Regions from separate parts of the Homo sapiens genome. Here regions 1, 2 and 4 are each linked to region 3. Evidence: promoter capture Hi-C in human tissues and cell types (Jung and others, 2019). All regions are on one chromosome and are shown on one strand. Each heading gives the region's core, a stretch centred on a gene start or on the middle of the fragment in contact. The rest is flanking DNA. Distances are from core to core; before and after follow the strand shown. Region 1 overlaps PIEZO1 (piezo type mechanosensitive ion channel component 1 (Er blood group)). Region 2 has its middle 8.5 kb from the start of SLC22A31. Region 3 holds the start of CBFA2T3 (CBFA2/RUNX1 partner transcriptional co-repressor 3). Region 4 holds the start of LINC00304 (long intergenic non-protein coding RNA 304).

What was found. Contacts are between HindIII fragments. The study calls those that stand out against the background at their distance.
Region 1: a fragment that was not itself captured here is called in contact with the fragment with the promoter of CBFA2T3 in region 3 in 3 of the 25 tissues and cell types used here (H1 embryonic stem cells, dorsolateral prefrontal cortex and lymphoblastoid cells).
Region 2: a fragment that was not itself captured here is called in contact with the fragment with the promoter of CBFA2T3 in region 3 in 2 of the 25 tissues and cell types used here (lymphoblastoid cells and spleen).
Region 4: a contact is called between a fragment that was not itself captured here and the fragment with the promoter of CBFA2T3 in region 3, in 3 of the 25 tissues and cell types used here (IMR-90 fibroblasts, hippocampus and spleen).

The regions. Positions count from the first base shown.
Region 1 is chr16:88,756,425-88,759,124 of GRCh38, forward strand. The region is part of intron 1 of PIEZO1 (piezo type mechanosensitive ion channel component 1 (Er blood group)); the gene reads right to left. Among named protein-coding and RNA genes, the nearest start is that of PIEZO1-AS1, 15 kb to the left of the region's middle. The HindIII fragment of the contact is 9,363 bases long and covers 1-2,700 here.
Region 2 is chr16:89,207,691-89,210,390 of GRCh38, forward strand. No RefSeq gene overlaps it. Among named protein-coding and RNA genes, the nearest start is that of SLC22A31, 8.5 kb to the left of the region's middle. The HindIII fragment of the contact is 6,212 bases long and covers 1-2,700 here.
Region 3 is chr16:88,975,798-88,978,497 of GRCh38, forward strand. It overlaps CBFA2T3 (CBFA2/RUNX1 partner transcriptional co-repressor 3), which reads right to left and starts at 1,410. Exons shown (of 12, transcript NM_005187.6): 1 at 860-1,410. The coding sequence starts at 1,010. RefSeq lists enhancers at 1-79, 1,782-1,831. The HindIII fragment of the contact is 13,654 bases long and covers 1-2,700 here.
Region 4 is chr16:89,156,713-89,159,412 of GRCh38, forward strand. It overlaps LINC00304 (long intergenic non-protein coding RNA 304), which reads left to right and starts at 2,508. Exons shown (of 4, transcript NR_024347.2): 1 at 2,508-2,678. RefSeq lists an enhancer at 2,404-2,573. The HindIII fragment of the contact is 4,775 bases long and covers 1-2,700 here.

The DNA.
Region 1 (2,700 bases), core at 187-2,686, 220 kb before region 3:
CCTCAGGAACCACACCCACCTGAGTGCTGTACAAAACTGGTGGCTGGGGCCGGGCACCGTGGCTCACGCCTGTAATCCCAGCACTTTGGGAGGCCGAGGCGGGAAGATGGCTCAAGCCCGCCATCTCATGGTCAGGAGTTCGAAACCAGCCTGGCCAACATGGTGAAACCCCATCTCTACTAAAAATACAAAATGTATCTGGGTGTGGTGGTGGGTGCCTGTAGTCCCAGCTACTTGGGAGGCTGAGGCAAGAGAATCGCTTGAACCTGGGAGGTGGAGGTTGCAGTGAGCTGAGATTATGTCACTGCACTCCAGCCTGGGCAATAGAGCAAGATTCCGTCTCAAAAAACAATAAAAATAAAAACAAACAAGCCAGGTGCAGTGGCTCATGCCTGTAATCCCAGCACTTTGGGAGGCCGAGGCGGGCAGATCAGAAGGTCAGGAGATCGAGACCATCCTGGCCAACATGGTGAAACCCTGTCTCTACTAAAAATACAAAAAAGTAGCCGGGTGTGGTGGCGGGCACCTGTAGTCCCAGCTACTTGGGGGGCTGAGGCAGGAGAATGGCGTGAACCCAGGAGATGGAGCTTGCAGTGAGCCGAGATCAGGACACTGCACTCCAGCCTGGGCGACAGAGCGAGACTCCGTCTCAAAACAAACAAAAAATGGGTGGCTGGGGAGCCGCACTGGCCCTCGGTCCCTGGGGAAGGGAAGGGCTGAGGCAGGCAGATGGCAATCCAGGTTTAGACTCCAGGTTAGACCACCTGGAGGCTGAGCCCTCGGAGCCGGGGGCTGGAAGACGCGATGCATTGAGGTTAGGAGGAGGGACCTCGAGAGAGCTGGCAGCGCAGCAGCACCTGGTGCAGGCCCTGGGTATGCAGGGGGCGTTGCTGGCGGGGGGGTGGGGGGTAGTTACCTAACCTGCCTGCTTTCCCGTGTGGTTAAAAGGCTCCAATGACAGTGCCTGAGAGTGTGTGGACACTGGCAGCCTGTGAGAGCAGGGGCGGGTGGGAACAGGTCTCCAAAAGGACTGACGGGGCCTAGGAGACAGGAGAGGGACAGGTGCTTGAACAAGGGCTGGGGGCCAAGACGGGGGAAAGAGCTTCTCAAAGGAAGTGGAGCCAATGGGCTGGACTGAGATCCCATCTCCACCTTCTCCAGGGCTTCCACACCCAGGAAGGAGAGCCCATGGGTTGAAGCTTCGTCACCTGGGAAGCAGGAGAGCCCGAGGGTTGGAGTCCATGACCTGGGGGTTCCTGGCCCTGAAGGAGCCAGGCTGCGGGCCGGAGCTGGGCCAGCTGCCATGGCTGGAGGCATCACTCTCCTTGGGTCCTCCCAACAACCTAAGGGTGGCACCATCCCACCCCACAGACAGGCGAACTGAGCCCAGCATGGCCCAGCAAGAGACTCAAGTCACAGGCAGACTCCCCCAGCAGCCTCAGCTCCAGCAGATGCCCCAGGAGGCAGGAAGGGTCTGGGCCAGTTATCACAGATTTCACAGACTCCAGCCAGCCTCAGAAGGTGCCACAGAAAGGCCTGGCTGGACACCCCTCCGCCACCCTCTGTGCCTCTACTTCTCTGCCCTGACCTAACTGGCAGAGAGGATATAGGGCTAGACGAATAGGCCCTCCGGGGTTGGGGACAGAGCAGCTGAATCCTGGGAGGAATCCCCAGGAGCCTCCTCAGCCCTGTGGTCCCACTATTTCAAGCATGGGTGGGTTCCTGGAAGCGGCTGCCCGGACTCTCCTCCCACAAGGAGATGGCCATTGAGGAGCAACAGCCCTCTCAGCCCAAGTCCTTGTGCACCGAGACCAACTGTGTGGCCCTCAGTCTGGCATTCAAGGCTCCCACCACTCTGGGTTAAGTGTCAGCTGACCCTGTGGGCTTCCTGCCACTCCCTGACAGACCAACATCGTGCTGCATCCCAGCCTTGGCCCCAGCAGTGGCCTGGCCTGGGGGCAACCCTGGCTTCTGTGAGCTCTGTCCCCACCCATCGTCACTCAGCCATCCCCAGGGCTCCTCCTGCTGTGATGCCAGTCATACCCGTGGCTCATAGCAGCTCATGCGTAACTGCTTCTCCCTGAGCCTATGACAGAGGCAGTGCTTGGAAATGCAAACCCACTGCCCCCACTCCACAGGCACCCACGGACTCACAAGACACAGCAGATGCAGGAACAGCCTCGGCACCCACCTGCAGAGCAGGCCAAGCGGCAGGGGGTGCGGCAGAACCCTGTGGGTCGTGTCTGTATGTGCCCTGCAGAATGACACCACTGGGCTCTGGCCCTGACCTCTCACAACTGCTGAGATGACCACAGATGAGCCCAATCTCCTCTGTCTTAGTTTGTTCGTCTATAAATCAAGAACCATAACTCCCTCCTCACAGGATTGTCGCAGAGACAACAGTGCCTGACACATAGCATGAGAGAGCAAACATGCACCAATCCCTGTGGCACTGCCAAGTGATACAAGCCACAGAGAGTCAGACGCCTACCATTCCTTTTGTGTAAAACTGAAATTCCACATGTCTAGGATGGACAAAAAGGCTGAGGAAGATCCACACCAAGCTGTTGCGTCTGCTCCTGCAGAAGAGGTCCTTGGTCCCCCCTACCCACGGCATTTCCCTTTTTTACAAGGGGAATGTTTTCATGCGTTGCTGGAGTTATCAACAAGTGAACTGGTCAAAAAGGAAAAGGACTGGAG
Region 2 (2,700 bases), core at 7-2,506, 230 kb after region 3:
CAAGCAGTTCTCCTGCCTCAGCTTCCCGAGTAGCTGGGACTATAGACGTGTGCCACCATGCCTAACTAATTTTCTTGTATTTTTAGTAGAAATGGGGTTTCACCATGTTGGCCAGGCTGGCTTTGAACTCCTGACCTCGCATGATCCGCCCGTCTCGGCCTCCCCCAGTGCTGGGATCACAGGTGTGGGCACGGTGCCCACCAGGGCTTTTCTTTATCAGAATTTTGACTAGTGATTCTACTTCCATACTACTTACAGGTCCACTCAGATTTCTAACTTCTTCCTGATTTAGTCTTGGTATGTTTAGCGTGTCTGGGAATGTGTTCATTTCATCTGGGTTATACAATTTGTGTACGACTTTTTTCATAACACTCTCTTGCGGTCTTTTTATTTCTGTAGAATCAGTGGTAATGTCCCCACTTGGATTTCTACTATTGGTAACTTGAGTGTTCTCTTTTTTCTTAGTCCATTTAGCAAAAAGTTTGTCAATTTTGTTGATCTTTGCAAAAAATCAACTTTTGGTTTCATCCTCTATTTTTCATTTCTGTTATTTTTGTTCTAATCTTTTATTATTTTCTTATTTCTACTAGCTTTGGGTTTAGGTTGTTCCTTTCTGGTTGTTTAAGTTGATTTGAGATATTTCTGTTTTTGTTTTTTTTTGTTTTGTCTTGAGATGGAGTCTCGCTCTGTCACCCAGGCTGGAGTGCAGTGGCGTGATCTCGGCTCACTGTAACCTCTGCCTCCTGGGTTCAAGTGATTCTCTTGCCTCAGCCTCCCAAGTAGCTGGGATTACAGGCGTGCTCCACCACGCCCAGCTAATTTTCGTATTTTTAGTAGAGATGGGGTTTTACCATCTTGGCCAGGCTGGTCTTGAACTCCTGACCTTGTGATCTGCCCACCTCGGCCTCCTGAAGTGCTGGGATTACAGGCGTGAGCCACCGAACACCCAGGCAAGCAAATCTCTTGAACCTGGGAGGCGGAGGCTGCAGTGAGCCAAGATCACGCCAGTACACTCCAAACTGGGCAACAGTGCGAGACTTGGTCTCAAAAAATAAAATAAAGAGGTTACTTATTATTTATTTATTTATTTATTTATTTATTTATTTATTTATTTATTTATTTATTTTTGAGATGGAGTCTCGCTCTGTCGCCAGGCTGGAGTGCGGTGGCACTATCTCAGCTCACTGCAAGCTCCGCCTGCCGGGTTCGTGCCATTCTCCTGCCTCAGCCTCCCGAGTAGCTGGGACTACAGGCGCCTGCCACCACGCCGGGCTAATTTTTTGTATTTTGTACTAGAGACAGGGGTCTCACTGTGTTAGCCAGGATGGTCTCGATCTCCTGACCTCGTGATCCGCCCTCCTTGGCCTCCCAAAGTGCTGGGATTACAGGCGTGAGCCACCGCGCCCGGCCAATAACCTCTTTAATTTGTGTGTCATTAAATATGGGTAAATACAGCTGCCAGCAGCCTCCAAGTGGCTGCTCTGGGTGCCCTGCCTGTTGATTGGACTTGCTCTGCAAGGAGCAGCCACTCTCTGTACATGGAGCAGCCACTCTCTGTGCATGGAGCAGCCACTCTCTGTACATGGAGCAGCCACTCTCTGTGCATGGAGCAGCCACTCTCTGTACATGGAGCAGCCACTCTCTGTACATGGAGCAGCCACTCTCTGTGCATGGAGCAGCCACTCTCTGTACATGGAGCAGCCACTCTCTGTGCATGGCTGCTCAGTAAAGCCGCCTCTTCCACCGCTGCCTCGCCCTCGCATACTTTCTGGGGTGAAGTCAAGGACCCTCCTGGGCCAAGCTGCAATTTTGGGGCTCAGCTGCCCTACATCACCTTGGCGGCCACAAAGGGATGAAGAGAAGACAGTGAGAGGCAGAGAGGCGGTGATTGGCAGGGCAGCAAATGACGCAAGGTGGCGGGTCAGTGAGAGACAGTGACCAGTGCCATGGCCATCAAAGCTGCAAATATCACGGCTGGGACAGTGGAACGCTGTGACACTGCAGACCTGTGACACTAGCCACAGGCTCTTTCAGGGGCCATCGTCTTTCCTGACAGGTGGCGGAGCCGAGTGGACAGGCAAGTAGCCACAGCACCACCTCGTGTGAGACCCACTGCTCCGATCGGCTGGTTGCAGAACCACACGCTGCTCCCCTCCTAATGGCTGAACCCCTCCAAACCAGGGAGACCTGGGGGAGACCGGGCAGTGCCATTTTGGCTCCTGTGGACAGGTAAGTGTCCCTGCTGTGTGTTCTGCCAATATTGGGTGAGCCAGGATCACCCCCGCCCTTCCTTATTTGCTGCTCTGAGATCCCCTTCCCTGCCTCACCCTGTATTCCACACCCATTAGAGCAAACAAAGTTTAGCCAGGTAGAGAGGTCCCAATTTTGTAAATAACTTGGATCCAGCTCTCTTATTTAGGTTGCTTTGCTTATGTGATGTGTGTTATGTCTAGCATGCTATCAGATTGGCTGATAAATAAAAGGGCACCCATAAACTAAACAAATGAACGAAAGAAATAAGACCACACACCCAAAGAAGATCAAGTACCATGGCCACATGCCATGGCGATGACCGAAAGTGACCTTACATGGTTCTGGAAACTCCAGAAACTCTAGAAAGTTCTAAAAAGTCCCTTAATTTGCATATAATTAAAAGTGGGTGTAAATACAGCTGCTGGCCAGGTGCGGTGGCTCACACCT
Region 3 (2,700 bases), core at 160-2,659:
GAATGTGGTCTCCAGAGATGGGGACACCCCTCGGTCCCGGGTTCTGTGTGTGAGTGTCAGGGGTGCAGTCAGACCTTGGACCTGACGGCCTCAGTGAGAGCCCCGCGAGACGGGAGACTGTGAGCTCCTGAAGGTTCCGACGGCTGCTGGGAGTGTGGCCACGAGGGCCACTGGGAATCGGGGCCACCAGCCTGCAGCTGCAGCCCCCAGCGTCCGGGGATCCTTGTCCTGGGACTTCGCAGGCTCGGGTGGGGGGTATCAGCAATAGCTGGCGTCCTGCTGGACTGGACCCCTCCCCAGAGCCCGAAGCCCCCAGAAGGGCAGGCCCAGGTTCCCCGTAAACCCCCACTGCCCTGGCTGGAATCGTTCCTCGGACAGGGGCCCAGGGTTGGGTCCATTTCCTCCTCACCGGGGTCTTGGGCCAGTGCCCTCCCCTCTGGCCTCAGTTTCCTCATCCAACCTGCTGTGAGGTGTCACACCCGGAGGGCATCCCAGGAGGAGGAGGGCTCTCTTTCTAGGACCCCCCCATCACTTCCCGGCTGCGGCCCTCCCACCCCCAGGAGAACACAGCCCACCCTCCTAGACGGGGCTGAGCAGCCCGGCCTCCAGCATCTGCCTCTGGGTGGGGCTGGGGCACCTGGCTGGCACCTGCCAAACCCTCACCAGCCCACCTGCCCCAGCTGTGCAGGACCTGCCTGTGGGGTGGCCCTGTTGATATCTGAGGTGAGTCAACACGGCCATCCGTGCCGGCACTGTCAACTAAGCTGGGCAGGCCCCGCGAAGCTCTAAGGAGTCACAGCCCCGGCACCGGCTGCCGCTCTCTGCCCCCACCCCACCACCTTCCCCTCGAGCCTCTTACCTGGGCCGCCCTTCCTGGGACCCCGGGGTGCGGAGCAGCCGGCAGATGCCAGGAGGCCGCTCTCCAGCACAGGGTGCGTCTGGGACATGGAGCCACAGGTGGATCCCGAGGCTGAACTGGCTGCCCTGTCCCTCAGTCTTGAAGCCGGCATGAGGAGGGCCACCCTCAGGGGCCAACCTGGAGCCCAGGACAGGCCTCTACCAGGACTGCCTTTCCCGACCTCCTGCAGCCTTGAGGGAAAGAGGAGGGGCTGGGCCAGCTGGGGCGTCCTGGAGTTGGGCCTCTGTCCCTGGAAAGCCGAGGCCCTCCCGGCCACCAACTGGGTGTCCTCTGCCCTGGGGAGGGGGTGGGAGCCCTGGGGCTCATGTGACGCGGGGCGGGCCTGGGGCTGCAGGCTGGGGAAGGTCTCCCTGCAGCCTGCGGGTGAGGCAGCCAGCTGTGTCCCCGTGATAATGCCGGGGCCGGAGGCCTGCAGCTGCGCCCGCCACTTCCCTGACAGGAACCATCTGGGGCCCTGCCCTGCGCGGCCTTCCCTCGGGCCATTCCGGTTTGACCTTCCAACAACTTCCTCCTCCCAGGCAGCTCTGGTGACGTCCCACCCACCCTGAGCCCTACAGCGTGGCCACTGGGCATGTGTTTCCTCGGCCCCAGGGCAGGTGTGCAGGCCTGAGGGCAGCTCCATCCTGGCCCAGAGCCCTTGGCCTGTCCCGCCCACCCATCTTCCCCCCAGGGCTTGGCCCTTCCTTCAGCCTGGGGTATCTGGGGGTGTCCTCCCTCTCCGCTAGCCCTCAGTCAGCCGAGCTTTCCCCAGCACCCCTTTTAGTTTGCCCCCGCTCCAGGGGCCACCCTGCCCGTGTTCCTGTGTCTGCTGACTGTGCCCTTGAGCAAGGCGGGGCCTCTGACCAGCCTCTCCTCAGCCCCTGCTCCGGGGTTCTTGGGCACCTGACCTGTCCTCAAAGTACCTCCCGCCTGCTGGGAAGGAAACCCTCTCTCTCTGCTTGGCCTCGTGCACAGGGCTCCTGGCCCTCTGTGGAGACAGCAGGGCTCCCCCACTCTCCGGGGGTGCCTCAGAAAGACCCTCACCCCACGCCCCAGCGGCCGCCTCCGGTGAGCAGCCTGGAGTTTGCGGGGGTCGGGGGTAGGTGGCTTCTCCAGTCTGGGAAATTCCAGAAGCCACCTCAGAGCACTCTTGGGACTACTTAGACCCTAGGGAGAGTCCTAGGACCCCTTTCTAGCGGCCGTTGGGCTGAGAGAGTGAGGCACATCCCAGATGCTGGGAAAAAAAGCCACTTTCTAAAGCTCCCTGACAACTGTCAGAGGGCAGGAGCTTCCTGGGAGGGGACAGTGACCCTTCGGCCCTGCAGCCCTGGTTCGGTGGCTTTTCTGATGCCATGGCTGGAGGTTTCCCGGCCTCAGACAGGCCAGAGGTGTGGAGCCCGCAGACCCAGGGCCGGCTCACGGGCATCTGTGCTATTTTGATTTGATTTGATTTGAGTTTTAGGTCACGTTTGCACGCAGTTAATAATTCAAGCCGTGCAGGAGTAAAAGCCGACTCCTTCCCCGCAGGGTCTCCAGGTGTCCCGGGTCTCCCTGTCCCAATAGTCGAGTGTCTTTCTCGAGTTGGTGACAACAAGCTGCATGCCAGCGTGTGTGTCCAGCTTACAGTGGGGATGTGTTTGTTCCTGCTGGGGAACTTCCCAGACGCCAGGCCCACCCGGGGCCTCCCCTGCCCTGGGTGGTCGGCCGTTCTGCCCCCAGGACTGAGGCTGGAGGGGACATTCCTGCCAGCCCGGGGCCCATCCCCTGGTGCCATCATTCGGTCCCCACGTCCCCTGCTGTTC
Region 4 (2,700 bases), core at 62-2,561, 180 kb after region 3:
CTCATCAGGGGCCAGGGTGAAGCCCCTGCCGCCCTCTGCCTTCCCTCCACCTGCGGCTTCCCTGGCAGGGAGACCATGGACCCAGCTCCTGCCTCCTCCATTCGTTTAACAGATAGGGCCCAGGCCAGCAGCCCAGGCATTAGGCTGGCCGGTCCACTGAGGCCTAGACAGGCCAGGCCTGAGGCAGCTCAGGAGTGCCAAGCTGGCCCCACGTTCCCACCCAACAGCGGCCCTTGGGGCTGCCTTCCTGCCAGGTGTCCAGGCCCAACACACAAGACCTGAGCCTGCTCTGCCTCAGTTTCCCTACTCTGTGAACTGCGGCTGCTGCTCTCTCGGGGCCCTTCTAGCCCTGGCCAAGGGGTGGGGGCTTTGTTCCCTCGGGCGTCCTGTCCCTGGGGACTGGCCACACACACACCACACACTGCCCTCCCACCTGGACTCTGTCCCAGCGGCACCAGGGTCAGGAGCAGGAGCCTCAGGACCCACGCAGCACCAGGCACAGCACGGAGTGAGGCAGTGGGCGGTGTGGCAAGCGCTGTGTGCACCACTAACCTGGAGGAGCCACGGCTCCCGGACCCTCGTGTCAAAGCTGCCGGCCTCCTTTGCTGGGAGCCTGAGAGGAGGTCCTGGTGCAGAACAGCAGCTTGTTGCCAGCCACAGTGAGAAGGTGGTGAGTGTGCCAGCCACTGAGTTAACCATCAGTAACAGGAGGCGTGTGCAGACAGGTGTGGACCACAGGTATGTATGTCACATGCCTGCATACGTCACATGTATGTGTATCTCACACGCCTGCATACACCACAGGTATGTATGTCACACGCCTGCATATGTCACATGTATGTGTCTCACGCCTGCATAAGTCACATGCATGTGTGTCTCACGCCTGCATACACCACAGGTATGTATGTCTCACGCCTGCATGTCACATGTATGTATCTCACACGCCTGCATGTCACATGTATGTGTATCTCACATGCCTGCATATGTCACATGTATGTGTATCTCACACGCCTGCATACACCACAGGTATGTATGTCTCACGCCTGCATATGTCACATGTATGTGTGTCTCACACGCCTGCATAAGTCACATGCATGTGTGTCTCACACGCCTGCATACACCACAGGTATGTAAGTCACACGCCTGCATGTCACATGTGTCTCACACGCCTACATGTGTCACATGTATGTGTATCTCACACGCCTGCATACACCACAGGGATGTATGTCTCACGCCTGCATATGTCACATGTATGTGTATCTCACATGCCTGCATGTCACATGTATGTGTCTCACACGCCTGCATACACCACAGGTATGCATGTCTCACGCCTGCATATGTCACATGTATGTGTATCTCACACGCCTGCATGTCACACGTATATGTCACACGCCTGCATATGTCACATGTATGTGTATCACACACCTGCATACACCACAGGTATGTATGTCACGCCTGCATATGTCACATGTATGTGTGTCTCACACGCCTGCATATGTCACATGTATGTGTCTCACACGCCTGCATAAGTCACATGTATGTGTCTCACACCTGCATACACCACAGGTATGTATGTCTCACGCCTGCATATGTCACATGTATGTGTATCTCACACGCCTGCATATGTCACATGTATGTGTATCTCACACGCCTGCATACACCACAGGTATGTATGTCTCACGCCTGCATATGTCACATGTATGTGTATCTCACACGCCTGCATACACCACAGGTATGTATGTCTCACACACGCCTGCATATATCACATGTATATGTGTCACACATGCCTGCATACACCACATGTATGTCACACACATCTGCATATATCACTTGTATGTGTCTCACACACCTGCATACACATATATGCCTCACACGCCTGCATCTATCATGTGTGTGTCTCACACACCTGCATATATCACATGTATGTGTCTCACAGCTGCATACACCACAGGTATGTGTCTCACACACGCCTGCATATATCACATGTATGTGTATCTCACACGCCTGCATATGTCACATGTATGTGTATCTCACACGCCTGCGTATATCACATGTATGTGTGTGTCACACACACACCTGCATACATACAGGCACATGGACACCTGTGTGCACACCAGTCCCTCCCTTCCCCGTCACCATCAGGTTCAGCCGGGCCTGTGGTCACTGCTTCCCCGAGGCAGCTGCAATGGGGCCCCGGCTCCCCCTACATGGTGCGTCTGATCAGGTTGGGACTCGCTCAGGTAGCTCTCATCACAAGGTCCTTGTGCACTGTTGCGGCTGCTCTTGGTGGCCCTTCTAGAGCCTTCCTGAGCCAGAGCAGACTCCTGCTCCCCCCAGACCCCCTGGGAGTCGATTCTGTCCCCTTCTTCCTGGCCGCAGGTCGGTGCAGCCGCTTTCCTGCCTGGAAGAGTAAAGTGGACCCTGTGTGAAAACATTGACGACGTGGCAAATGAGCAGCAAATTGATCAATACGAATGATCACGCCCCATGTGCATCTCCTCAGCAGCCACAAGAGAGACGAGGTCACTGGAGGATAAACATCCGTGACTGCACCTCATGATCCATCACGCACGACGGCCGCAGCATCTCCTGCCAGCTGCCGGCACAGACAAGAGCACGGGATGGACGACCGCGGTAGCAACGTGGGGCTCATCTGCCTCTCTCTGAGCAGGAAGCCCGTAGGTCCCCACAGGCGGGTGC